Linked DNA regions of Homo sapiens: all the other regions are linked to region 1. The links are contacts of gene promoters, found by promoter capture Hi-C in blood cells and fetal thymus (Javierre and others, 2016). All regions are on one chromosome and are shown on one strand. The core of a region is centred on a gene start or on the middle of the fragment in contact, and the rest is flanking DNA. Distances in the headings are between cores, read along the strand shown.

Region 1 (2,583 bases), core at 48-2,547:
TTGTCAGAAAGATAAAGATAGTTCTAGATAGAGGGAACTGCCCGGGCAAACAGGATTGTGTGAGCTGCTTCTTTGGAGTATTGCAAATAATTCTTTAAAACAACTCAAAGCTACACAGTGGATAGAGGTGTTTATTTTCTGCTTACACTGTACAGATCTAGTAATTGCTGGAATCCTAAAAGAAATTTTCACAGTAGGTAGAAAAATTTAAGGGATGATACAAAGAAAGGCCACAGAAATTATTAATTTCTCAAAATGGATGTATATAAAAAGGCTAAGGGAATTATGATTGGCTTGTTCAGTTCTGTCTTAAAAAGGTTTAGAGTGGACTTCACCTATAGTAGCAAAAGCTCTCCAACATAAAGGAGACCAGTTCCGAGGCCCCAGACCCAGTGCCTCTGTACCTCGGGTCTGTCTTTGCCAAGAGCTCCAAGGTGTTCTTATTCCCGCACATTCATATCTCAGGGCAGCCCAAGAGTAGGAAACTCCAGCGGGGAAGCTGGATCCTATCTCCAGACAGTGCTGCTCCTCGCCTATCTCAGGTTCATCCTCCTGTTATCTCCACAGACAACTCCAATTTCTTATCTTATCAGTCTCTTCCCAGCCCTCTTCTGGGTATTACTTTGAAAACACAGGGCAGCTGCCCCTGGAAATGACTGACACCTGCCACGAAGTCCCATCCCCGTCCTACTGGGGGTTGTTGCCCTTTCTGTTGTGAGGAAAGCGACCCAAGAAGAATGGAGGAAAAGGGACTCAGGTTGCCTCTTCCCAGTCCCCACTCCCCCGCCAAATTTCAGTCTACTTGTGTCACTTTGTGGGTGCCGGTGGGAGATTTCATCATTCAAGTAGCAGCATTGATGAGTTAAAAGGCAATCTCTCGCAATCTCTTTCTCTGTGTCCTTGTCTCTGTTTCTCTCTCTCTGCGTCTGTCTCTGTTTGCTAGGCCTGCTATCCAGCTCCCCTGGTCCCCAGGATCGTCATGCAACCGCACCCACAGCCTCAGCCAGGTGCCAGGTGGTCCTGCCTCTCCCAGGACCCCGGGAGCAGGGGTAGTGTCTACGCGGGCCTCTCCTGCTTGCCTGCCTAGCGTGCCCAAAGGGTTACCTGTGCTGGGATCCGCGGCACACAGGAGCAGCCCACAGAGGCCCCAAATACCCAGGAGCCACAGGTGTCCCATTGAAAAGCCAGTTCTGCGGAGTTGGTGCCCTCCGCTCGCAGCTGGCTCTAGTGCTGGAGCTCGGCTCCTGGGACTGCGACTCGCTGGCGGGCCCGCTTCGTCCCGGGAGAGCTGGGGAACTGGGCCGCCCTCCCGTGGCCTGCCCCGCCCCTGCTGTCGGGCTGCTCCTCTGGGATTTGCATGCGCGCGCGGACACACACACACACACACACCCTGGAACCTTCGCGGGAGAACCAAGCCGGCCCCGAGCCAGTCCGTGATAATCAAACCTCCACACTCAAACCTGGGTGCTGCCTTCCCAAGGCTGTCCCCATAGGTGGAAGGGCCTTACTCCTTTTGGCGAAAGGAATCAATGGTCATTGAGGTCTCCCTAGGTCTCCTTCTCTATTTTCTTTTTGTTTTTTTTCTTTTCTTTTCTTTTCTCTCTTTCCCCGCGTACTTTCATCTGCCTGTCTGCCTTGGTCATTAATCCTCCCCAGGTGGGCCTATAAGACCACCTAATACACAAACCCCACGCGTGTTTACCCCTTCACATTCATATGAGATTGTGCTCTCTCTTTAATTGACAATCAGTAGACTTAGGGCGAAGGCTTACTGTTGGCATGGAGGGAGGTCCAGCACTGCTGACCTGTTTCTGGGATGCCAGATAGCAGACGAATGAAACGCAAGTTTCTCTGACCTCCCTGGAGAAGGCAGTTTATTATTCACCACTGAATGCTCCCCAGGGGCTAATTCCAAATCCTCTCACTGTTCTTAATATCTTAACCTCAGGATCTCTTGATTGCCCACCTCTCCCTACTCTTTAAAAGGTGAGAAGGGGCTGGGCACAGCGGCTCACGCCTGTAATTCCACCACTTTGGGAGGCCGAGGTGGGCGGATCGCTTGAGGTCAAGAGTTCGAGACCAGACTGGCTGACATGGTGAAACACCATCTCTACTAAAAATACAAAAATTAGCCTGGTGGGGTGGCGCATGCCTTGTAATCCTAGCTACTTGGGATGCTGAGGCAGGAGAATTGCTTGAAGCCGGGAGGCGGAGGTTGCAGTGAGCTGAGATCACACCCCTGCACTCCAACCTGGGCGACATAGTGAGACTCCGTCTCAAAAACAAACAACAAAAAAAGATGAGAAGATCCACCTACCTAGTTTGCAGTTTCTACATTTTAAAATGTTATGTGTTTTTAAAAGATATTAAAAGATTATTACCCAAATAGCAATGCATAAGCTTCTATTGGATCCTGGTTTGTAAAAAATAATAATAATAATATAAAGCTATGAAGGACGTTTGCAGAACAAATTAGGGAAAGTGAATATGGATTAAGTAACAAGTATTGAAAGATATTATAGAAGCGTTCATTTTATTAGGTATAATAGTGGTATCATACTTTAGTCAAAGAGTGTTTTCAAG
Region 2 (2,583 bases), core at 41-2,540, 460 kb after region 1:
ACTTTACCTGAGTAGCACTCATTCTCTTTTTTTCTTCTAGAATTACCACTTCTTGAGACAAGTTTTACAACTGTATCTCATTTCAAAGCCTAGTTTCTTTTCTTATTAATGATATACCAGTCAGTATTTGATTTGGTTTCTATTTTGGGGCTTGATATAATAATAGAATCTATGTGACTGTGAATGCAAGGAGAATTTATGTATACTGTTCCCTATACACTGCAGGAAGTCAAATGGGTTACCAATAGTGTCTTAGATAGAGTCTAAATCTACACATTCCCCCAGTAGTTTATAATTTTGGTGTTATCAGACTCCTTTCGCCGTAACTATACTTCCTTACTTATCTAGCTTATGCCTCCAAGACTACTAGAGTCTTGATTGTTTCTCTCCCTTACTTCTGTGATTCTTGGCTTAATAAGTTGTCCTGAGCAATAAATTCTTCTTAGCTGATGTTTTTCCAGTGAAAGGTAGAAATATGTCACAAAGCTTTCTTTGAACAGTGTAGCATAATGGAGAGGTGGCTGAGATGATTATACAAGTCAGACTAGAATAAATGCTACATTTGAAATATAAACAAAGTGCTTGTGAGTTTCCAGGAGTGAGAACAATTAATCTTGATAAAGGGGATTAGAAAGACTATGCAGAAAACATTTCAGTTTTGCAAAGAAATACAAGATTTCAACATGCAGAAAGGCAAAGGAGGACATTGTAGGTTAAAAACAAACAAACAAACAAACATTATGAACAAGAAAATCTGAACAAGTCATTTTCTAGGTGACCAGGGGAGGAAGCAGAAGTTGAAACTGAAAAGGCTTTGGGTCCAGGATGTGAAAGGCCTTAAATGACAGACTAAGGAATCTGGATTGTATTCCACTGGGGGAAACCAGATAATATTTTTAGAGTAATAAAATGATATTTACATTTCAATTACTCTGGAAATGTAAAGGATGAATTGGAGCAAGTTTCAGAAGGCAGGCATGGAAGAGACAATATTGCTTGCCAAACATCCAGACAATTCTCCATATTTTCCTTTGGAGTGTGTGACTAAATTCTTACCAATAGGATTTGAGAAATGATGTACACCTGTCCTGATAGTTTTTGAATTATATATCTTAAACTTATGTTATTGGCTCATCGTTATATTTTCCATGTGAATTTGATACCTTTCTCTTTATGAAAATTTCCTCTTTAACTGTAACATGCTGTTTTTCTGAAAGCCCATTAGTGTGCTTTTTTGTATGCTATTTGTATGCTTTAGAACAGCTATCTGCTTTTTTTTGAAACAGAGTCTCGCTCTGTTGCCCAGGCTGGAGTGCAGTGGCACAATCTCGGCTCACTGCAACCTCTGCCTCCTGGGTTCAAGTAATTCTCCTGTCTCAGCCTCTGGAATAGCTGGGGTTACAGGTGTGCGCCACTACACCTGGCTAATTTTTGTATTTTTAGTAGAGACAGGGTTTCACCATGTTGGCCAGGCTGATCTCAAACTCCTGACCTCGGGTGATCCGCCTGCCTCAGCCTCCCAAAGTGCTGGGATTATAGGTGTGAACCACTGTGCCCGACCTCTGCCTTTCTTTTGGTTAGTGTTGCAGAGAAACTTTCTTTTATGATTCTGGGTAGTTAAGATTTTCTTAGCAAATCTTACTCAAACTTGGGACCTGAAGTGAAACAAGTTTGGAAGGTTATATGATTGGCTAGATAGTGAGAGAACTCTAGAGATCTCTGTTTTAGAAACCTTGTGTGTGCATGCAGGGCAATATAAATAAACACAAATTAAAAATTTAAAATATGGTATATATATTTTCTTCTTGTTCTTCTATTTCTGGTGTATCTATTTTTAAAAAATTTTAACCCAATCAATTAATCTTTGTCTTTTAATTGAAAAATTTAGCCTGTTTAAATTAATAGACATAGTTGCTTTTAAATCTATGTTAGTTATCTGTATTAATTATCTATCTCATCTATTTTACCATGCCTTTGCTCTTCTTGCTATTTTATGATTAAATATTTCTATTATTGTATTTCCTATTTATTAGCTTGTTAGTTATGTTTTTCTGATTAGTATTCTTATTAGGTTTTTCTTGTCTATAAGCTTGTTAGCCATGTAATATTTTACTATTATTTTGATGGTTGCCATGGAGACTACAATATGCATCCTTGAATTTTTAAACCCCCATATATATGAGAGGTTCCATGGTTCCCATGGAACACTTAACTCCATTTACCATCTTCTCATCATTTTAGAATTGTTTTCATGCGTTAACTAAACAAGTATTTTAAAATGACTAACATATTACAATTGTTTCTATAGTCAATATTCATTTAAATTTACTCTTGTGCCCACTCTTTACATCATTTCTCATTTCCTCCTACATATCTGTGCTTCCATGTGGAATTACATACCTGCCATGTGAATAATTCATTTTAATAATTCTTTTAGCATAGGTCTTCTGGGATAAATGCTGTTAGTTTTTGTTTCTTTCGAAAGGTTTTTTATTTTGCCTTTAATTGTGAAGGATATTTTACTCGGTATAGAATTTCTGAGTTGGTAGTAATTTTGTTTCAAGACTTCAACGATCTTCAATG
Region 3 (2,583 bases), core at 28-2,527, 340 kb before region 1:
AGTATATTATTTAAAAATATTATTAAAAAGGTATAATAGAAATCAGAAAGATTTCCAAGAAGCAATACTAGAACTGTTGGTGAAGGCAGACAAGGCCATTCACGGCAGAGAAAACTGCATATGAAAAGTGTAGGGGAAGTTATCCACTCTCTCTTTGGAAGCTCCTGTTTCAGATCATCAACAGGGACTACGGAAACTGAAACATGACTGAAAAATATGTCAGATAATATGATTTTAAAAGAATAATGAAACTTGGAGAGTAATTTCATCCACTCGTTGATTCACTCAACCGAATAACAATGTTTGAATATCTTTGATTGTCAAGCCTTGTGCTAGACAGTGGGTATACCAGGATAAAAACAAAGTCCCCAAAAATCTTATTGTCTAGCAGAGGTGGCAAAGATAGAATTACTGCAATATGATGCACTAAGTCCTATGATACAGTTAACATCAGGGTGTCAAGGAAGACTTCCTAAAGAAGAGGACGTCTTGAAGAATTCATAAGAGTTCTCTCACCGTTTTGTGAGAGAAGATGTGGCATGGCTGAGAATTTGGAAGTAATTCAATATGGCTGGAGTGTATATTGTGAGGTTAGAAAGAGTGGAACGTTGAGCCTGGTGAGATAGACAAGAAAACTAATGAAAATCCATGTTAAAATGTCTGGATTTTATTCAAAATATAAATTTCTCTGACTTCAAATAATTTCAAGTGCTGCATCCAAGAATCTGCAGCAGAAAATGCAAGATGACGTAGAATGCCAAATAACCCATATGAATTCAGCCTCATGTTTGCCCATATATGATCAAAGATTCTGGTTAAAAATAAACTGGTTTAGACCCAATCCTAAAAATATAGGAGACCTCTTACTGATCGGGCAGATGTAACTCCAAATATTTACATCAAATTTATTTTGTCTGTTGCAGGAGTTGTTTTTGATAAATCATCTCAAGAAAGTCTACGAAGATGACATTAAGGGATTTAGACAAATCTAACTCTATACCACATTAATTTAAAACAATACAAGTAAAACCTATAAATCTTTTAAAATCATGGATGAGTAAAATAAAGAATTACCACACTCAACAGGAACAGTATTTTGCTTTCACTACAAAATAGTTAGGGATGACTATCTTTTAATAACCATGCCCTCTAACTATTTGATTATATGATTCCTGGTTAAGGGAATAGTCATAGTGAAGATTGTAAGGAAAAACATTTAAATATTCTATCCCTTTTTCTAGCCACATTTCCACATATTTAATTTCTTTCATACTCTTAGGATGCTGGAAAAAAATCTACAACTGAGTGGTTTCAAAACACCACACATTTACGATATGCAGCCTCAGCTGGCCTAGGCTCCATGCCCTGACCAGAATGCCTTAGTCAGCTCCTTTTCTTACTTCCCTCAGCAGCTTTGCCAAACTTTCACCTCTTTACCCAAGTCTTTTTATTCATTTGCATCAAATTGCCTTGCTCTTATTCACTGGATGTAGGAAATGAGTGTGAGAGGTTACATTTGCAGTCACCTAAAGACTGCAAGAATAGCAGACAGCCAGGGAAAACCACATTTAAGGAATAAGTGGATGGTGATTTGCCCTTAGAAAAGACTGAAAAAGGAGAGGATAGAAAATTAGAAGGTAACCAGAAGTTTTATTATTACAAAACCAAAGGAAAAAAATATTTTTAAGAAAGAAGTAGAAAGCAGAACCAAAGGCTGCAATGAGATTAAGTGAGTTAAGGGCCGAAAGTGTTCACCGAATGTGGCAATGTTGTGATCACAGAAAGTAGTGAATTTATTTTAAATACTTTCAACTGAGTGATAAGAATAGAAACCAGTTTTTAATTGGCTAAGCAACAAATAAGGGTAACAAAAGAGGAAAGGCAACGTGATACTACTCTTTCAAGAAGGTTGTTGTGAAACAAGGTGATGTCATGACTGATGAGAGGAATGGAGAACTAAAGGAAGGTTATGGATATGGCAATGGTGGTGATTGTGGTAAAGCTGGTGAAGTAGATAGCAGAGTTGATGTTGGAGGTGATAGTGGAGGTGATATAGGTGGAGATGGTAGCAGCAGTGGTGGTCTTGGAGGTGATAAAGGTAGTGGGAATGAACATGGTGGAGGTGGTGGAGGTACAGTGGTCACGGGGTGGTGATGGTTTAAATGATGATGAAGGTGGTCAAAGTGATGACAGTTAAGCCAAAGGTAATGGAAATAGTAAAGGCGGAGGTGATGGTGGTAGTGGTGGTGATGGTAGTAATGATAGTAGAAATGAAAATAGTAGTTTAAAATATAGGAAACTCTTGAGTATGTTTAGCCACTAAGGTAAAAAAGCCAGTAAGAGAGACAGAATAGAGAAAAAGAATAATTGAGTAGGCCCCAGAGGAAAATAGACAAAGAAGTTACAGCACCGATAGAAGAACTAAACTGCAAAACCATCTTCCATAGTTAAAATTCCCATACCAAACTACCTGCAGCCCTCCAAATGTATCATGGGGTCCTATGCCTGCCGCTCTGCCTTTGTACATGGTGCTATATCCTCTATCTAGGACACCTTTCTCCCTGTCATGTCACCATATAACTC
Region 4 (2,583 bases), core at 52-2,551, 310 kb before region 1:
TATTTCCTGAATTTGAATGTTTGCCTGTCTTGCTAGGTTGGGGAAGTTCTCCTGGATAATATCCTGAAGAGTGTTTTCCAACTTGGTTCCATTATCCCCATCAGTTTCAGGTACACCAATCAAAAGTAGGTTTGATCTTTTCACATAGTCCCATATTTCTTGGAGGCTTTGTTTGTTCCTTTTCATTCTTTTTTCTCTAATCTTGTCTTCATGCTTTATTTCATTAAGTTGATCTTCAATCTCTGATATATCTTCTGCTATATCAATTTGGCTATTGATACTTGTGTATGCTTCACAAAGTTCTTGTGATGTGTTTTTCAGCTCCATCAGGTCTTTCATGTTCTTCTCTAAACTGGTTATTCTAGTTAGCAATTCCTCTAACGTTTTTTCAAGGTTCTTAGCTTCCTTGCATTGGGTTAGAACATGCTCCTTTAGCTCGGAGGAGTTTCTCATTACCCACCTTCTGAAGCCTATTTCTGTCAATTCGTCAAATATATTCCCTGTTCGGTTTTGTTCCCTTGCTGGCGAGGAGTTGTGATCCTTTGGAGAAGAAAAGGCAATCTGGTTTTTGGAATTTTCAGCCTTTTTGCACTTTTTCCTCATCTTGGTAGATTTATCTACCTTTGGTCTTTGATGCTGGTGATTCTTGTATGGTGTTTTTGTGTGGATGTTCTTTATGTTGATGTTGATGCTATTTCTTTCTGCTTGTTAGTTTTCCTTCTAACAGTCAGGCCCCTCTGTTGCAGGTCTGCCGGAGTTGGCTGGAGGTCCACTCCAGACTCTGTTTGCCTGGGTATCACCAGCGGAGGCTGCAGAACAGCAAAGATTGCTGCCTGTTCCTTCCCCTGGGAGCTTCATCCCAGAGGGGCACCCGCCAAATGCCAGCCGGAGCTCACCTGTATGAGGTGTCTGTTCACACTTGCTGGGAGGTGTCTCCCAGTCAGGAGGCACGGGGGTCAGGAACTCACTTGAGGAGGCAGTCTGTCCCTTAGCAGAGCTCGAGTGCTGTGCTGGGAGATCCATTGCTCTCTTCAGAGCCAGCAGGCAGGAACGTTTAAGTCTGCTGAAGCTGTGTCCACAGCCGCCCCTTCCCCCAGGTGCTCTGTCCGAGAGAGTTGGGCATTTTATATATAAGCCCCTGAGTGGGGCTGCTGCTTTTCTTTCAGAGATGCCCTGTCCAGAGAGGAGGAACCCAAAGAGGCAGTCTGGCTACAACAGCTTTGTGGTGCTGTGGTGGGCTCCACCCAGTCCAAACTTCCCAGTGGCTTTGTTTACACTGTGTGGGGAAAATCACCTACTCAAGCCTCAGTAATGGCAGATGCCCCTCCCCCCACCAAGCTCCAGCATCCTAGGTTGACTTCAGACTGCTGTGCTGGCAGCGAGAATTTAAAGCCAGTGGATCTTAGCTTGCTGGGCTCTGTGGCGGTGGGATCTGCTGAGCTAGACCACTTGGGTCCCTGGCTTCAGCCCCCTTTCCAGGGGAGGGAACGGTTCTGTCTCGCTGGCATTCCAGGAGCCACTGGGTTTGAAAAAATGACTCCTTCAGCTAGCTCGCTGTCTCCCCAAACAGCCATCTAGTTTTGTGCTTGAAACCTAAAGCCCTGGTGGTGTAGGCTTCCAAGGGAATCTCCTGGTCTGTGGGTTGTGAAGACCATGGGAAAAGCATAGTATCTGGGCCTCAATGCACCATTCCTTATGGCACAGTCCCTCACAGCTTCCCTTAGCTAGGGCAGGGAGTTCCCCAACCCATTGCGCTTCCCAGGTGAGGCAATGCTCCACCTTGCTTTAGCTTGCCCTCTGTGGGCTGCACCCACTGTCTAACCAGCCCCAATGAGATGAGCTGGGTACCTCAGTTGGAAATGCAGAAATCACCCACCTTCTGTGTTGATCTCGCTGGGAGCTGCAGACCGGAGCTGTTCCTATTCCGTCATCTTGCCAGCCACCCCCAGCTTTTAAATTACATAATGTATTTTGGCTGGGCTTGGTGGCTCACACCTGTAATCCCAGCACTTCGGGAGGCCAAACCAGGTGGATCACCTGAGGTCGGGATTTCAAGACCAGTCTGAGAAACATGGAGAAACTCCATCTCTACTAAAAATACAAAATTAGCTGGGCATGGTGGCACATGCATATAATCCTAGTTACTCAGGAGGCTGAGGCAGGAGAATCGCTTGAAACTGGGAGGCAGAGATTGCAATGAGCTGAGATCATGCCATTGCACTCCAGCCTGGGCAACAAGAGCGAAACTCCATCTCAAAAACAAAACAAAAAAAATTCATTTTGACTTCATAAATGAGTTTTTCAAAAAGGTTTACACTAATAACTCATTTTTAATTCAAGTAGAGAGAAACATGCCATCCTCATTTTTATAACTAAATATTTATAAAGTACCCATAGCATCTTTTGTGCATATTAAGTCATAGGCCTAAATCAGTTGTACCTTCTTGCAAGAAGCCTAAATCCAATTTAAATAAATGATATGAACCCTACCAAAATTGAATTAGAGATTGGCTTATTTTCATATTTCAGAAAATAATATTTCTGAAACACATTGAACAAAACTAGTTTGAAACATTTCAAATG
Region 5 (2,583 bases), core at 33-2,532, 290 kb before region 1:
AAAATAGGTCTACCTAGATGGTGTGTAATTTTTTTTTTTTTTGAGACGGAGTCTCGCTCTGTTGTCCAGTCTGGAGTGCAGTGGCATGATTTCATCTCACTGCAACCTCCGCTTCCTGGGTTCAAGCGATTCTCCTGCCTCAGCCTCCGGAGTAGCTGAGATTACAGGCACATGTCACCACGCCTGGCTAATTTTTTATATTTTTAGTAGAGATGGGGTTTCCCCATGTTGGCCAGGCTGGTCTCAAACTCCTGACCTCAAATGATCTGCCCACCTCGGCCTCCCAAAGTGCTGGGATTACAGGCGTGAGCCACCACGCCTGGTCTAGATCATATGTAAATTTGAAACTACACATTATCCTGAGTTTGTTATAACAAGAAAAATACAGCAACGCAACTATATGAATATGTGAAAAATATAAATGACAGTGTCTTGTAAAATAAATTCTCACTTAGAATTGTTTTCTATTTTAATACTAAAAATCCAATAAGTGGTAGAAGAAAGCAGGAGGAAAAACTATAACAAGGAATCATGGGGATACTTTTTCAAAGAGTATTCTTTGAATTCTCACTCAAGAGAAATGAGTCCACTAAAATAATGAAGCTAAGATTAATATTTTATAATACATAGGATGAAATGTATGTATTTTCTTTGGCAGAAGCCTTTCAAGTTATACCAATTTGGAAGTCATTATTTCACTTGGTCACTTAAAAATTCTTTTGAATTGCTATTCAACTCATGTTACAAGCCCAAAAGCAAACACAGCTTCTATGTTCATCATAGCTTTAATGTAACTTTATCTTTCCATTATAGTTCCCTAAAAAGTATTTTCGAAGCCGAAAATCATTTTATCCTATTTCACACTCAAGACAGGAGCAAATGCCATGACTCTGGCAAATCAAATTATCCAGTGAATATACCCGAAAGGCAAAAGGAACTGGACGGTGCTGGGAGATGGAGGTTGAAGATTGGGAGGTGTGTTCAAGGTAGAGGGAACATTTGTGAACGTCAAAGGCGGAATGCAAGGATTAAATCATGAGGGATCTTGTAAGCTATGCATTAGTGGATGAAGTTTATCTTGAGACTGGTAGTGAGCATTGAAAGATTTCATTTGAGGCTAGAGAGATAGGATGGGGAAGGAATGATCAGATCTGCACTTTAAAGAGACTATTGTGGCCACTGTTCAAAAATGAACTGAACGGGACAAGTGTGGGGGACAGGTTAGAAATCTAGGCAGGAAGAGGTGGTAGAGAAATGAACACATTTTAAAGATAATTAGGAAGTAGAACAGATAGGACTTAGGTTCCAATTAGTTGTAATGGTTAAGGGGAGACAGAAAAGTTAAGAATGTCACCCAGGTGTCAGGGTCTTCATGATGATATTGTTTATCAACTTAGGGAACACAGAAGTAAAATCAGCTTTTAGAGGAAGTATGATGAATTCAATTTGGAATGTAGTGAGTTTGTGGACCCTGTGAGATATAAAGTTGAGATATCCAAATTAACTATGGGATAATCATGGAATAGAGGTAAGCAGTTATATAATTTCTATAAGATCTGCCTGTAAATAGCAATTGAAGCAATTGGAAAGAAAGATATTGCCCCAAGAGGGAAGGATGGATGAAAGAATAAAAGGGTGAGGGCTTGAAAGTGAGCAAAAGCAACATTTAAGAAATGAGCTAAAAGGATACCAAGAAGTAGGGGAAGATCAGGAGGGCAATGTTCCAGAAAAAATGAAAGTGCTTTTCAAAAATGTGCGAGTATTTCACTATGCAAAGGCTGATGAGAAGCCAAGACTAAGATCAAAACTAGCCATCAGATTAAACCAAATGGAAGAATTTGTGACTTTGAGCAAGAGCTATTTGGTAGAGCTGTGAGTACATGAGTGGAGTAGGGATTGGTTCAAGGAGCAGGGAAGTGTGAGACATATACTCTAGACAAGTAACTTTTTCAGACGTTTGGTGATGAATGGGGATAAGAAATCAGGTTGTACTAGAAATATATGAGAGCTTTGGATGGTCATTTATTTCACTGGAAAAGTTTTTGGCATGTTTAAATGCTGATGTGAAATGTCCAGTAAAAAAAATGGATTAAAGTTATAAAAAAAAATAGCTAACGTTCATTGAGTGCTTAGTGTGTGCAGGGTGCTCTTCCATGTTCTTTATGGTTATTAACTCCTCTGATACTCTCAATAATCCTATGAGAGACTAACTGATAGGATAATATGCCTTAAGAGATGGGAAAGAATGGGATCCAGAGTTCAGGTAAACGAATTTTTCTTGTATAGGAAGAAACACAACTTCCATCCTAAAGAACCAGAAATGGGAAGGATGGGGTGGAGGCAGGTGAATTTATAGGTTTGGAGGCAGGAGATTGAGAGAGTTCTCTTAATACCTCCTATTTTTGTCTGTCAATCAGGAGAAATGGCCATCTGTACAACATGAGGGCAGGGGTGGTAGGCTGGTAGATTTGAAGTATGGAGGAGATTTAAAATAGACATTGTGGAGAATAGGAGAGAACATGCACTAGAAGCCCAAAATGATTGCCAGGCAGCACTGAGGCCCACTGCAGGTGAAAAGCAAGA

Evidence for each region. Contacts are between HindIII fragments. The CHiCAGO score rates a contact against its expected background, and 5 or more counts as called.
Region 2: a contact is called between a fragment that was not itself captured here and the fragment with the promoter of PKHD1L1 in region 1, in 1 of 17 cell types (total B cells). The highest score is 6.6, in total B cells.
Region 3: a fragment that was not itself captured here is called in contact with the fragment with the promoter of PKHD1L1 in region 1 in 1 of 17 cell types (total B cells); the score reaches 6.9 in total B cells.
Region 4: a contact is called between a fragment that was not itself captured here and the fragment with the promoter of PKHD1L1 in region 1, in 1 of 17 cell types (total B cells). The highest score is 5.6, in total B cells.
Region 5: a fragment that was not itself captured here is called in contact with the fragment with the promoter of PKHD1L1 in region 1 in 2 of 17 cell types (total B cells and naive B cells); the score reaches 6.0 in total B cells.

What each region holds. Positions count from the first base shown.
Region 1 is chr8:109,361,175-109,363,757 of GRCh38, reverse strand. It overlaps PKHD1L1 (PKHD1 like 1), which reads right to left and starts at 1,297. Exons shown (of 78, transcript NM_177531.6): 1 at 1,105-1,297. The coding sequence starts at 1,177. The HindIII fragment of the contact is 8,587 bases long and covers 1-2,402 here.
Region 2 is chr8:108,901,983-108,904,565 of GRCh38, reverse strand. The region is part of intron 3 of LOC101927413 (a long non-coding RNA gene); the gene reads left to right. Among named protein-coding and RNA genes, the nearest start is that of TMEM74, 120 kb to the right of the region's middle. The HindIII fragment of the contact is 1,603 bases long and covers 489-2,091 here.
Region 3 is chr8:109,701,920-109,704,502 of GRCh38, reverse strand. No RefSeq gene overlaps it. Among named protein-coding and RNA genes, the nearest start is that of SYBU, 58 kb to the right of the region's middle. The HindIII fragment of the contact is 4,683 bases long and covers 1-2,583 here.
Region 4 is chr8:109,671,591-109,674,173 of GRCh38, reverse strand. It overlaps a transcript of SYBU not described here. Among named protein-coding and RNA genes, the nearest start is that of SYBU, 28 kb to the right of the region's middle. The HindIII fragment of the contact is 3,125 bases long and covers 1-2,583 here.
Region 5 is chr8:109,653,575-109,656,157 of GRCh38, reverse strand. It overlaps a transcript of SYBU not described here. Among named protein-coding and RNA genes, the nearest start is that of SYBU, 10 kb to the right of the region's middle. The HindIII fragment of the contact is 7,372 bases long and covers 1-2,583 here.